Regions from separate parts of the Homo sapiens genome. Here region 1 is linked to region 2. Evidence: promoter capture Hi-C in 16 types of primary human blood cells and fetal thymus (Javierre and others, 2016). All regions are on one chromosome and are shown on one strand. The core of a region is centred on a gene start or on the middle of the fragment in contact, and the rest is flanking DNA. Distances in the headings are between cores, read along the strand shown. Region 1 overlaps ABCD1 (ATP binding cassette subfamily D member 1). Region 2 holds the start of IRAK1 (interleukin 1 receptor associated kinase 1).

Region 1 (6,579 bases), core at 2,277-4,776, 290 kb before region 2:
AGGATCCAGGCCAGGGGCCTGTCCCCCATACCGCTGGGTGCTGAGCTCACGAGGGCCCAACTCAGCCAGCCCGCCGCCCACTTCTGCTGCCGGGGCCACCGAGGCCCTGCTGCCAGCCTTGATGCTTTCAGAGGTTGAGCTCGCCTTGCCCCTCCTTGTTGCCTTTTGCCCTGCGCGCACCTCACGCCCTTTGTTACCACTCAGACAAGCCCAGGACTGCAAGTCAGGAACACTACATGTCACTTCTCCAGGCACAGATACCCTCACCCACCTGTCCCTGTCCTCAACCCAACTGCGACTTAGAGGTGGGAGAATGTGCGGAGTACCTGGAGTGAGCCCCTTCATCACTCCAGCCTTGGTTTCCTCGCCCTGAAACAGCTCTTGCACCCTAAGGTGTTTTAGAGGAGTGGGAAGCCTGTTCTACCTGTTATTTTAGTGATAAGATTAAATGTTTAGGTTTCTGCATTCCTGTTGTTTTTGTTTGTTTGTTTTATTTTCTTTTTGGCTTTTGAAACAGGAGTCTGACTGTCGCCCAGGCTGGAGTGCAGTGGCGCGACCTTGGCTCACTGCAGCCTCAACTTCCCAGGCTCAAGTGGTCCTCCCACTTCAGTCTCCCCAGTCGCTGGGACTACAGGCACAAGCCGCCGTACCTGGCTAATTTTAATATTTTTGGTAGAGACAGGGTTTCGCCATGTTGCCCAGACTGGTCTCGAACTCCTGGTCAGGTGATCCTCCCGCCTCAGCCTCCCAAAGTGCTGGGATTACAGGTGTGAGCTGCCGCGCCCGGCCTGCATTCCTGTTTTGTTCCTCTGCCGGATTGCAACTTCTGCATTTGATTTTTAGTCCATTAGTGGTCACCCTTTAAAAGGTCAACACGCAGCCGGGCGCGGGGGCTCCCGCCTGGCATCCCAGCACTTTGGGAGGGTGAGGCGGGCAGATCACGAGGTCAGGAGGTCGAGACCATCCTGGCTAACAGGGTGAAACCCCATCTCTACTAAAAATACAAAAATTTAGCCGGGCGCGGTGGCGGGCGCCTATAGTCCCAGCTACTCGGGACGCTGAGGCAGAAGAATGGCGTGAACCCGGGAGGCGGAGCTGGCAGTGAGCCCAGATAGCGCCACTGCACTCCAGCCTGGGCGAAAGAACGAGACTTCGTCTCAAATAAAAATAAAAATAAAAAATAAAAGATCAACACGCATACTTGTTAGGTTAATCAATAGCTCCGCCTTCTCCTGGACCTTAGAACGCAGAAGCAGCCCCGTGGGGCATGGCATCATAGCCCAGCCAAGAGTTGGATTTGTACCTAGTTTTTCCTCTTTGCTATCGCCTTATCCACACGTGTTGAAACTCACTCGCATGTTTGCTGAGTTCTGTGCTCACCATTTCGTTCCTACATCTCAATTTCTCTTCTATGTTCTGTTATCTTCCTCCAGATAGACATGTTTTTAGTTTTTTGTTTGTTTGTTTTTTAACTCACAACTATGCTCAGGACAAACAGTCATCAGTGCTTCTAGTTGTGGTTGGTTTTTAAAAAAGGTTCTTTCAGCAAGGGTTTTGTCATGGGAAATTCTTGATTATTTTATTGTAATTCTTTGTGTTGTTTAGTTTTTTGTTTGTTTGTTTGTTTTTTGTAGAGGCAGGTTCTCGCTGTGTTGCCCAGGCTAGTGTGGAACTCCTGGGCTCAAGCGGTCCTCCCGCATTAGCCTCTCAAAGTGCTGGGATTACAGACGTGAGCCACCACACCCAGGCTGTTGTCATTCTTGATTATTTTTGTTGAAAATGTTTCTATTTCACCCTTATTCCCAAGCTAAAGTTGAGTTGCGCAATGGAGTCTAGGTGGACTGTTCTTTTCTCTCAGCCCTTTCACAATGTCTCATTGTCTCCCTGCTTCTTCTGTAGCTGCTGACAAATCTGTAGCTGCTAACAAATTGTCCTCCCTGAGTACCCTGTGTTTCTTTTTTTCTGGGTACTTTGATCACTTTCTTTCTTTTTGGCATTCTGCAGTTTCACTATGACATGTTTAGGTGTCAGTTTTTGTTGATTCTGCTTGAGACTTGTTATATGTCCTTTGAATATTTGAGTTTTTCAATCATTCTGGAAGATTCTCAGCTATTAGCTTTTCAGATATTGCCTGACTCTCATTCTTTTTTCCTGTTCTTCTAGAACTGGCAGCCAGTGCTGGACTTCTGACTCTCTTCGTTGTGTCTTTCGGTTTCTGTTTACTGTTTCCCATCTCACACTGTCTGTGCTGAATTCTGGGGATGCCCTGAGGCCTTCCTGTTTGCTCATTTTCCAGTTCACCAGTTTTCTCTTTGGCCATGTCTAATTGGAATTTTGTTCACATTTCAGTGGCTGTTTTGTAAGTTCTATTTCATTCTATTTCAAATAGGAATTTGAAAATGGACATTTCCTTTTTCAAGTAGAAATGTCAGGCTGTTTCTGTGTCTTATTTGCTCATCTTTTTGACTGCTCCTTTTATACTGTGTATCAGGTTAGTCATACTTACCCCACCGTCTCTATCTGATGGTTTGGTTAGCTTCAGTTCTTGGGAGTATCATTCGCCTGTCTTCTGTCTGCTGGTCTTCACTCATGGTGGATCATTTCCTTGTGGGTTTTGCAACAGAACTTCTATGGGGATTGGTGTGGCCTCAATGGAGGGTGTAAGTCCAAATGTCCTTCTGTTTTGGCCAAGCACTCCAGGGTAAGCAGTTGGAGGCCATTAGTTAGTGCGGAGGGGATGGTTCCTGAATTGAGAGGTGGTTTCATTTGAATTCATTTGAACTCCAGGCACATTGTTACAAATTTTCAGAGGAGGCTTTTTGTTCATTGGGCATAGAGCCCAGGCTAAGCAAGGAAAGCTTCCTGGTCTTTGCCCTGCCTGCCTCTGGGGCTATCAAAGGATCACCTGGCTGTCTGCTTCTCTTTGCTCCCAGAAGTTTCCCTTGCTTTCCGTCAAGCTTGGCTCTGCTCGAAATAGTGTCGTAGTTTACCCAGTTTGGTGGGAAGAGGGTTTTCGATTTATAAACAGAAGTCTGATTCTCTCCCTGTTCCTGTTTCCACCTCGGGGCTTCCATGCCCTCAACTGTCTGTGTCATCCTCTGGGTGACTCACCAAGAGGAAGGATCTAATTCGGGGACTGCACATCAAGGGCAGCCTTGATGCTGGCGTAGGTGCCCAGCCCAGTCAGCGCACCTAGCCCCGGGCACCGAGACAGCCCGCGAGACAGCACCTGCAGCCGCTTCGCTCCATGGCTGCCATTGGTCACATCGGGCTGCTCCCTGCCCTGAAGGCTTAGGACTTTTCTGAGCCTCTGCTGTGCCAGGCTTTGTGGGCTCCTGGCCCTGCTCTGGTGGTCCTCAGAGCCAGCAGCCTTTGAAGGCTGTGAAGCATTCCCTTTCCCCTGGCTTGATAGGCTCTGTCCTGTGGCCGTCTGTTTTTTTTTGGAGGGGGAGCTTTTGAGATGGAGTCTCACTCTGTCTCCCAGGCTGGAGTGCAGTGGCACGATCTTGGCTCACTGCAACCTCCATCTCCCGGGTTCAAGTGATTCTCCTGCCTCAGCCTCCCAAGTAGCTGGGACTACAGGTACACGCCACCATGCCTGGCTAATTTTTGTGTTTTTAGTAGAGATGGGGTTTCGCCATGTTGGTCAGGCTGGTCTTGAACTCCTGACCTCAAGTGATCCACCTGCCTCGGCCTCCCAAAGTGCTGGGATTATAGGTGTGAGCCACTGTGCCTGGTCCTGTGGCCTTCTTATTTCCCCAAATGCCAGGCCTGCTCTGTCTTGGGGCCTGTGCCAGGAGCACTCTTTCCTCTGCTGCCCCATGGCGCAGCCCCCCTAGGCAAGGCCCGGCCTGCCCACCGCCACCTTTCCTGTCTCCTTCCCTGCCCCACTGCTCTCCCAAGCACTCGACACCCCGTCAGTGGCGCTTTTCTCTCTCCCTGCCATGGACTGCAAGCTCCATGGGGTCAGGGATTTTTGTCTGTTTTGTCCCTGCTGTGTCCCCTGCATCGGGTGGCTAGTGAGGGCTCCAGGTGCTTCAAGGAGGTGGAGCGCACTGGGTGGGAAGGCAGGCTCTTACCGGTTGGAAGATTTAGATAAGCTTTGCTGGGCTGGTGTGCAAGGCAGGTGGGCTCAGGAGATGGGCAGGGCCTGTGGCTCCCACTCCAGCCCTGAGGCCTTGCTCTGTCCAGCTCTGGGGCCCTGGCCTTATTCACCCAAGGCTCCAAGAGAACCTGCAGAAGGCAGCTGGTTCTACGCCAGGATGCCCTGGGCACAAAGACTTGCAGACCCTTCCCTTTGTCCACAGCGACTGTCCAGCTCTCAGAACACCTGGGGAGGAGGGCTGTGTCCTTGAGAGCACCGTGGGAAGGAAGGTCCAAGGCCTTCGACCTTTAGGATTCACATCCCCGCCCCGCCAGCCCAATCTAGTTCCCTGGTTTCCCGGGCCAGGCCCCTTTCCACCCTGCATGGCCCTGAGCGGATACTGCGTTCCGTGTCTTCCCCCAGCCCCCAGCCAATGATCCCTGAGGCTTCCCCCTCAGGATCACACCCACCCCTGGATACAGTCCTCGGGTCCTTCACAGGACATTCCCACCACTTCAGCCACACCCCAGCACCCTCAGAGGCGGCCTTCGCCCTTGCTCCCCACCTCTGCTCCTGTGGGGAATCTAAGGATCAAGAAACTGAGAGTCAAGGCCATTGATGAGGGTCAGGGGTGCTGCCACGGGGCCTAGAGTGTGACAGAAAAGCAAATTAAGACAGGAGCAGCTCCTGGGAGAAGCAGACACCAAACAATACGGCTGCTGGCCCAGAGGTCAAAAACCATGGCCTAGAGGGGGCGGTCAGGAAGTGGGACATTAGGCCGGGCGTGGTGGCCCATGCCTGCAATCCCAGCATCTTTGGAGGCCAAGGCAAGTGGATCACCTGAGTTCAGGAGTTTGAGACCAGCCTGGCCAACATGGTGAGACTTCGTCTCTACTAAAAATACAAAAAAAATTCGCTGGGCTTGGTGGCGGGTGCCTGTAATCCCAGCTACTCGGGAGGCTGAGGCACAAGAATCCCTTGAACCTGGGGAGGCAGAGGTTGCAGTGAGCCAAGATCACACCACTGCACTCCAGCCTGGGCAACAGAGCAAGACTCCATCTCAAAAAAAAGAAAAGAAAAAAAAAAGAAAGTTGGCGTTTCAAAGCCAAACAGCTCTGGGCGTTGGATGACAAAGTTCAGATGTGCCCCAGGAGGGGCGACATCAGTGGTGCAGGACAGAGGGCCGGTGGAAGGAGCTGGCTGTACGTAGAAACAAAACCAGATGCCTACTGGTGCATTTAAAAATCAACGTTATTGAGACGTAATTAACATACTATACAATTCTTCCTTTTCCATGTACAGTTTAAATTCATTCACAGAGTTGTGCAGCCATCATCACTAACTCCAGAATGTTTTATTTTTATTTTATCCCCCAAAGAAACCCCAGACCCATGAACAGTCACTCCTCATTCCCTCTCTCCAGCCCCTGGCACCCACTCATCTGCTTCCTGTCTCTGTGGATTTGCCTATCTGGACATGTCCTAGAAATGGAATCATGTGCTCTGTGGCATTTTGTGACTAGCTTCCTTCACTGAGCATCATGGTTTCAAGATTCGTCCATGTCATAAGATGAATCAGTCCTTCATTCCTTTTCATGGCTGAATAATATTCCATTGTGTGCATAGACCACAATTTCTTTATCCATTCATCCCTTGATGGACATTTTGGGTTTCTTCATGTTTTGGCTATTGTGAATAACACTGCTGTGAACATCCATGGACAAGTCTCTATGTGTGCAGATATTTTCGTTTCTCCTGGGTGTGTAGCTAGGAGTAGAATTGCCAGGTCACATGGTAACTGGACGTTTCACTTTTTGAGGAGCTGCGAGACTGTTCTCCACAGTGGCTGCCCCATTTTACCTTCCCGCCAGCAGTGTTGGAGGGTTCCACCTTTTCATCGTGGCTAGCACTGGTTATCATCTCCTTTGTATTCTAGCCACCTAGTGGGTGTGAGGCAGTATCTCTTGGTGGTTTTGATTTGCATTTCCCTGATGACTAATGACGCTGAGCCTCTTTTGATGTGTTGAGTGGCCATTTGTATGTCTTCTTTGGAGAAATGTCTGTTCACGTCCTTCGCCCATGTGTGATCGGGTTATCTCTGTCGCTGAGTTGTAAAAGCTCTTTGTATATTCTGGATACTGCACCCTCATCAGATGTGTGGTTCACCAGTCCAGAGTTTTCTCCCAGTCTGTAGGTTGTCTTTTTCACTGTCTCGATATTGTCCTTTGGTGCACAAAAGTGTTGAGTTGAATGAGGTTCAGTTGATCTGTTTTTCTCTTGTTGCTCATGCTTTTGGTGTCCTAGTGAAGGAACTATTGCCATATCCAAGGTCGTGAAGTTTTATCCCATTTTCTTCTGAGAGTTTCATACTTTGGGCCACACTACACATCAGCCTGTGATGTGCTCTGGGTTGGTTTGTCTGTATGGTGTGAGGGGTCCCTCTCCTGCACATAGAGAGAAAGAGAGAGAGAGCTGGTTGCCCCGGCACCATTTGCA
Region 2 (6,407 bases), core at 1-2,500:
CGCACCCAAAGCCACCCTCCCCGATCTTGAGCTCCTCCGAGAAGTTGTGGGTGCCCCGGGAAATCTCACAGAGGGGCCAGCAAAACGGAAAGGGGCGGGCTCCCTGCAGGAGGGACACTGAGCTCTCTGGGCCTGGCTGTGGGAAGAGAGCCTGGATCAGGTGGGGTCCCTGTCTCTTCCCTTCTGCCCAAGGCTCCAGGCTCTCCCCACCACAGCTGCCTCCCAGCTGACCCAGCTTGGCTGACTGGGGCTCTGCGCTACATCAAAGGCTGAATTCCTTCCTCCTTGTCTCGAATCTTCCCTGGGGGGCAGGGGACACCTACCTTGGTAGAAGAAGGGGCTGGAGATGGCGGTGGAGGCCACAGGGAAGCAGGGCTTGGGACCAGGCCGAGCTCAGGCCCTGAATGGGTCTGGGAGCCTGGAAAAGCTTCATAAAGACACCAGTGAGAGGCAGGCAGAGACCAGCAGCAGGGTCTACAGCCGTGGCCGTGGTCAAGGTGGGCTCTTCTTTGGGTCCACCGAGCCTAACAACCGGGCCCTCTTACCTGGGGAGAGGAAGGTGGAGGCTGAGGATGGCAACTTCCGGGGGCTCCAGGCCTCGGCCTCGGCGGGTGCAGGGATGCTGCTGGGCCTCGGGGCAGTGGTGCCTGGGGACGGAAGCGGGGCGGGAGGGTGCCCTGGGACGCCAAGGAAGGAAAGGAAGGTTGAGGCCCGGGTGGGGGAGCCCCGTGGGGCCCGCCGGCCTCCCAGCCGTGGGGTGCCCGGAGTCCCGCGCTCACAGGCTGTGATGATGTCCCGCGCACGGAGCAGCTGCAGGTGCGTGAGGATGTGCACGAGGTCGGCCACACGGGCGTTGCGGTTGATCCAGGGCCACAGGACGCTGGCCGTGCGCTGCCCGGAGCGCTCGCACAGCCGCAGCTCGGTCTGGTCGCGCACGATCAGGGCGGCTGCGGGGCGGGGGGCGTCAGGCGTCGGCGCCAGGAGCCCGCGCGCCTCCCGCCCCCCGGCAGCCCGCCGCCACCCACCGAACTGGCACCAGTCGGCGGGCTCCAGGGCGTCCATCACTTTGTAGAAGCGGCACATGACCCAGGGCGGCACCTCGTACAAGAAGTGCTGGGCGCCGGGGGCTGCGGGCTCCCCCGGGCCCGGCCCCCCGGCCATGGCTGCCGCCGCCGGGCCGGGACCTGCCGGGGCCTCTCAGGGCCGCGGCGGGCGCGGGCCTGGGCCGGCCGGGTCCGCGGACACTGACTCACTTCCCCTTCGAGCCGGCCTCGTGCGACGCCCGGCGGGGCGGAAGGGGCGGTGCCCGGGCCCGCCGCCATCTTGCGCGCCGCGGCCGCGCGCTGGGTCACACGGGGGCGCCCCGCGCCGGGGAGGGCCCGGGTCCCGGCGGGTTCCGCGAGCGGCGATCGGCCTCCCGGGCTCGCCCGGGCGGGGCTCTGGAGGACGAACGGCGGCTCCCGGCGTTGGGGACAGAGGGCAGGGCGGAGGCCCGGGCTGCTCGGAAAGGGGCCGGGGCCGGGCCTTCCGAAAGCTCCTGGGCGGCCCTGCCGGAACCCTGCTCTCCACTGCGGCCTGCAGGGCTGTTACCAGGAGCCCTGCCTGCCCGCCCCACGTCTAGCCCCCTGCACACGGCAGCAGCCTTGAGCCATTCAGTCTCCTTAGGTGTCCTGAAATATGCCGAGAACGCTGCCCGCCACAGCCGTGAGTGTATGCGTTGCTGCTGCCCCAGCCCTCATTTGGCAAGGGTGAGCTCAGGCAGCTGTGGTGAAGGCTTCCTGAGCCCGCCGGCAGAGCTCCTGCCACCCCGTACCTGTCCCCTCCTGGGCATCGTCCTTGATTACTTGTCTGGACCGCCACCCCCGGTCCCCGCCCTGAGATGGGGAAGACCCCACAAGCAGCAACGCAGACTTACTCTTTTGTTTCTCCAGCTGGATGTCTCCTCCAGCGACAGTTCCCCTTGCCCTCTTGATCCTGACAGCGAAGGGGTTCCCCACCCCTAGCCCTACAGACTTAGGACTTTTCCTAGAAACGAGAAGTGCCCAAGGCCCACAGCTGGCCCCTGTTGGAGTCTCTTTCCTGAAGCCACCACCACTGTGGCCACTCCCAAGGAAGATGCCAACCATACCATGAAACCCATGGCTTCTCACGGGACAGACTTTACTGAGATGTACCAACTCAAGTATCTGAAATGACTGCACACCCATGCTAACCTCCACGGGGGCACTTGGTCCTACTTACACACAAAGGCCCATCAGCTCACGGAACAGGGCTGGCATACGAGATGCTCAATGCATACAAGTTGACTTTTCAACCCTGGGATCTACCTTTGAAGGCCAGGCCTTCCGAGGGTACCTTCTAGCATGTGCATGTGAAGCTGGACTCCTTTGAGCAGTTGTCTCCTCCAGCCCCTTACCAACCTGGTGAGGCTGCTCCTGAGAGCCAAGGAAGCCAGTAACAAGGGGGCCCCCTTTGGGCAAACCCCTCAGCCTGCCCTTGCCTGGTCAGAGAACCACGTTAGCAGTCAACAGAGGGCACGTGAGGGTCCTGGCCAGAATGAGACACAGGAGGAGCCACAGCCTGCGGGGGTGGGGGTGTCCAAAAGCACCACAGCACATCCAGACCTAGGGGGTGCCCCTACCATACGGGTCTGGAGCAGGGAGGTTGTGCTGCAGGCTGACTCATGCCAGGCCCTTCCCGTCACACGCTGGAGCAGTGTGCCTGGAGAGCACTGGCTTGGAAGAAGCTGAGGGGCCAGCGAGGCCAGCATATGGAGGAGGCTTCCCTTGGCCGCTCGTGGCAGGCCTGAAGGCAGCTACCTGTGTCCAGGGACAGCCAGATCCAATGAGGAAACGCAGCACCATGCTGTCATGTGAGCTGGAGGGGGACTTCTGTCTTATAATGAAAGCCCAGACCTTGAGTCACTTTCACAGAGAGATTTATCGAGAATGCTAACAGCACAGGATACAGTACTTCCCAACAAAAGGTGCAAACGCGTCACTTAGAAAGGCATGCTGAGTATTCTTTGCTTTCACATGTATTAAAAAACTTACAAAAATAAAATAAAACTGCGTGCTGCCCATCTTTTCCAATAGTAAAAGAACCTTATGAAAAAATCACTTGATTTTTACAACAAAAGACACAAACGGACATTTTTATGTAAATTTATAAGGCAAACTCTTTATATAATAAATAGGTTACAGGGATTCAGTGGGGGGGGGGTGTTTTTGAAACGTATACAGGTACATTCAGACAGGTTTACTGAAATGGTACAAATTTCCTTAATAAATTGCCTTTTGTTTTTAAATATATCAGTGCTTTCAGTCATTTGGCTATACACAAAGAACCTTTTTTCTGAACACTACAAAAAAGCAATCAATAATTTTTGTTTTTAAAACGACCTACTTATTTTCTAAAGTAATTGTCCCAAAACACAAAAACTGAAGGTGAATACGATACAGGGCTTTTAGAGACATCTCCAGCTAAGTGTGTCCCGGCCTCTCCCTGTGCCCCAAGTGCACCTCTCCCAACCTCAGACAGGTTTCCAGGCTGGAGCCAGCTCCCTTCTGCACAGGGTGGCCTGTGTTACTGGCAATGCTGTCCATAGCTCTCGGCCTCTGGGCTGGCACAGGGGAGCATGACTTCAACTCAGGAGGGGGCAGACACCCTGCCTAGCTCTTCCAGATGCTGCACCCGGCATGCAATGGTCACTACAGTCAGCACTCTCCGCCTCTCAGAGGAGGGAGGGGCTGTCAGGTGTTTTGGGAGCCCAAAACCATGCCTAATGAGGGTAATGGCTTTTCTAAGGAGATGTTTTCGCCATGGAATGGGAAGGGGTTTTCTCACATCTAAGTTTTGCTGGCGATCGGGTGACAGCCAAGAGAGTGCAAGCCCCCTCCATGGTCATTTTATTGCCCTGGGAAGGGGAGGGTGGGGAATAGAGATGTCACAGTGTTGAGCCCTGGAGGATGGGGTGGGATGTGACGGAAGTGTCTTAAACAGTAATGCCCACGGGGCACACCTTGGAGAGAGAATGCCCACCACCTGGCCTGTCCAGGAAGAGCTGCATCTGCCAACATTAGCCTGACCTGTGCCCACAGCAGAGCGTCCCAGCCTCCTGCTTGGGTGGGCCCAGCCCCATTCTCCCCAGCTCTTCAGCTCTGCACACACACATCCCCTCCTGGCTCCCCTCAAGGAAACATCAATCTTGCCTTTCCTTAAAAGCACGGGATGGTGGTAATAATCTCGGGGGGAGGGGAAGCAAAACAAGAATCCACTGGGCGGAACAAAACCTGGTTTTGCAGTGACTTGGAAAGTGGCAACACATCAGCTATTCGGCTTGCTGGCTTGGAGTGGGACTCCTGGGCTCCACTGCTTTGGGTGGCTTCTGGCTGATCTGGGCAGGGGTCATCTGTTCAGCTCTCCCCTCTCATCTCAGTCACCATCCCCCTCCCTCCGAATGCTTTTGTTTGTAAAGAAAAAGTGTCTAGAAATATTTGTCTCTGGAACAATTACTTTAAACATAGTTACAATACAGACTTCAGTTCAAACACAGAAGAGATTTACTTAGCAAAATTCCTTTCACCCACCAAAAATTACACAAATATAAGCCTCAACACCACAGTTAAGAGGACCAGTAGAGAGAACCTCATGTTTGGAACACAAAAGGAGAAATAAAAACCAAACCAAACCCAAACAGAAAAACCCCAGAAAGACAAGTAAAGGGCAAAGAAGGAAGGGGAAGGGGAGCAAACACAGCACACGTTACAGTGTCCAGATACACGGGAGCCCAGCATGGGCAAGGGCTCGGCACACATTGAGTAACAGTCCTGGTGATATTTGGTCATATATTCATTGACTACTGACTCTGGAGCGGCTGTTATTGATTGAAGCAGTGACAAATCAAACGGAAAGGAGGCCGTGGTAGCAAGGGAAGGAGCAGGCTTCAAGTTCTGCAAGCCTTTTGCACTCCACTGTCCAGCTCCCCAGAAACACTGAACCGGGTGGGCCCCGCTCCATCCGGGCAGGGCTAGAGGTCACCGGGTGAGGCTAACTCGGGCGTCGATTTCATGTCAGTCAGAAAACACGCACGTGGACGCACGCAGACACCCACCTGTTCACGGCCAAACATCAGCGGCAACGGCCTCCTCGCCTCCTCTGCCCCTATCCCAGGCTGGGTGGGAAAGAGCATCATGACCCACTGCTAACACTGAACACACGCCGGAGCTGGCCCCGGATGTGGGCCCAGAGGCTGCCCCAGCCCTGGTCCTCCGAAGGGCTCACGGGTAGCCCGGCCACTGAAAGGGCCTATGGCTGTTTTTCTTTTGGATTCAGGCCTCAGAAGAAGCAATGACAGCAGGGAGGGAAGCTTTTGGCCCTGGTGATTATAATGCTCTCTGCTTTGGAAGAACAAGTTTCTGGATTTTTTTGGTGTTTCTAATTATTAAAAAAAGATGATCAAAAAGAACTGTTACAGCTAAACTCTCTAGCAGATATTGCTCATTAAGAATTACAAAAGCAAATGCAATTACTCGTAGGATGGGGGAGAAGAAAGGGACATTTCTGGAGTCTTCACTACTCCTGGAGGGGACCCCTTGGACTGACGCACATGATTCTGGGGTCCCTGGCGTTCTACCTGGTGCAGCTCACAGGTTCCGAGACAGGCCAGGCCTCCCGTCTCCGCTCCAGCCCCCAGGCTCGACAGAGTGGGAAGGATGAAACACACTCGGACCCTACTGGCAGGGAGGCCTGCGAGGCTGACTCCACATGGGCTCACCCTGACCAGGTCACGGGAAGGGGACTGGGGGAGTCAGGCCACCCCAGTGGACTCCAGCTCCCAGAGGTGGAAGGCGACCAGGCTGTGCCGACTACGTTCCGGACTTCAGCAGGTCAAGGGAGCGCTCCTGCACCCAGAACCTTGGGACCTCTTTCACAAGCACGGGAGAAACAAGAGTGCAAAACCTGGGTGCTGCCTGGAGCCTCCTTCACCTGGCACAGGAAAGCCCTTGAAAGAAGCGAGGAAAAGACCACGAATCTGCTTGGACAGAAGAAGTGACCAGCAGACAGATTTGTCGTTTTTTTTTCTTTTTTTTCTTTTTTTATTTTCCCTTGTCCTATGCTATGGTTATCAGAAATATTGTAATTAAGCAACAGGTATAATTTTAACAGGTCTTTTTTTGTGTGTGTGGAGCCACAAGCAAAATGAGTTTATAATTGTGCAATATACAGATATATATATAAAAATTCAACTGCTTTGTGTGTCTAGTCGGTGCGTTAAATAAAAGGGACAGAAAAACTAAAAGCAAAACTAAAAAGCAAAACAAAAGCCCAGGATAGAGGAGACAAAGCAGGCCTATGCGCACAGTCTATGTGTTACTGGATATAATCAGGGTCACCAGGAAGAACAG

The links. Contacts are between HindIII fragments. The CHiCAGO score rates a contact against its expected background, and 5 or more counts as called.
Region 1: a fragment that was not itself captured here is called in contact with the fragment with the promoter of IRAK1 in region 2 in 4 of 17 cell types (activated CD4 T cells, monocytes, M0 macrophages and 1 more); the score reaches 6.4 in activated CD4 T cells.

What each region holds. Positions count from the first base shown.
Region 1 is chrX:153,729,433-153,736,011 of GRCh38, forward strand. All of the region lies in intron 2 of ABCD1 (ATP binding cassette subfamily D member 1), which reads left to right. PLXNB3-AS1 (PLXNB3 antisense RNA 1) reads right to left here. Exons shown (of 3, transcript NR_199696.1): 3 at 5,420-6,579. Among named protein-coding and RNA genes, the nearest start is that of ABCD1, 7.9 kb to the left of the region's middle. RefSeq lists an enhancer at 3,880-4,572. The HindIII fragment of the contact is 1,143 bases long and covers 2,956-4,098 here.
Region 2 is chrX:154,018,652-154,025,058 of GRCh38, forward strand. IRAK1 (interleukin 1 receptor associated kinase 1) reads right to left here and starts at 1,251. Exons shown (of 14, transcript NM_001569.4): 1 at 1,026-1,251; 2 at 780-947; 3 at 546-677; 4 at 324-427; 5 at 1-136. The coding sequence starts at 1,161. MIR718 (microRNA 718) reads right to left here and starts at 1,338; the gene lies at 1,269-1,338. It overlaps MECP2 (methyl-CpG binding protein 2), which reads right to left. Exons shown (of 3, transcript NM_001110792.2): 3 at 2,922-6,407. RefSeq lists silencers at 621-690, 701-800, 1,151-1,530 and enhancers at 1,216-2,185, 2,301-2,370. The HindIII fragment of the contact is 4,941 bases long and covers 426-5,366 here.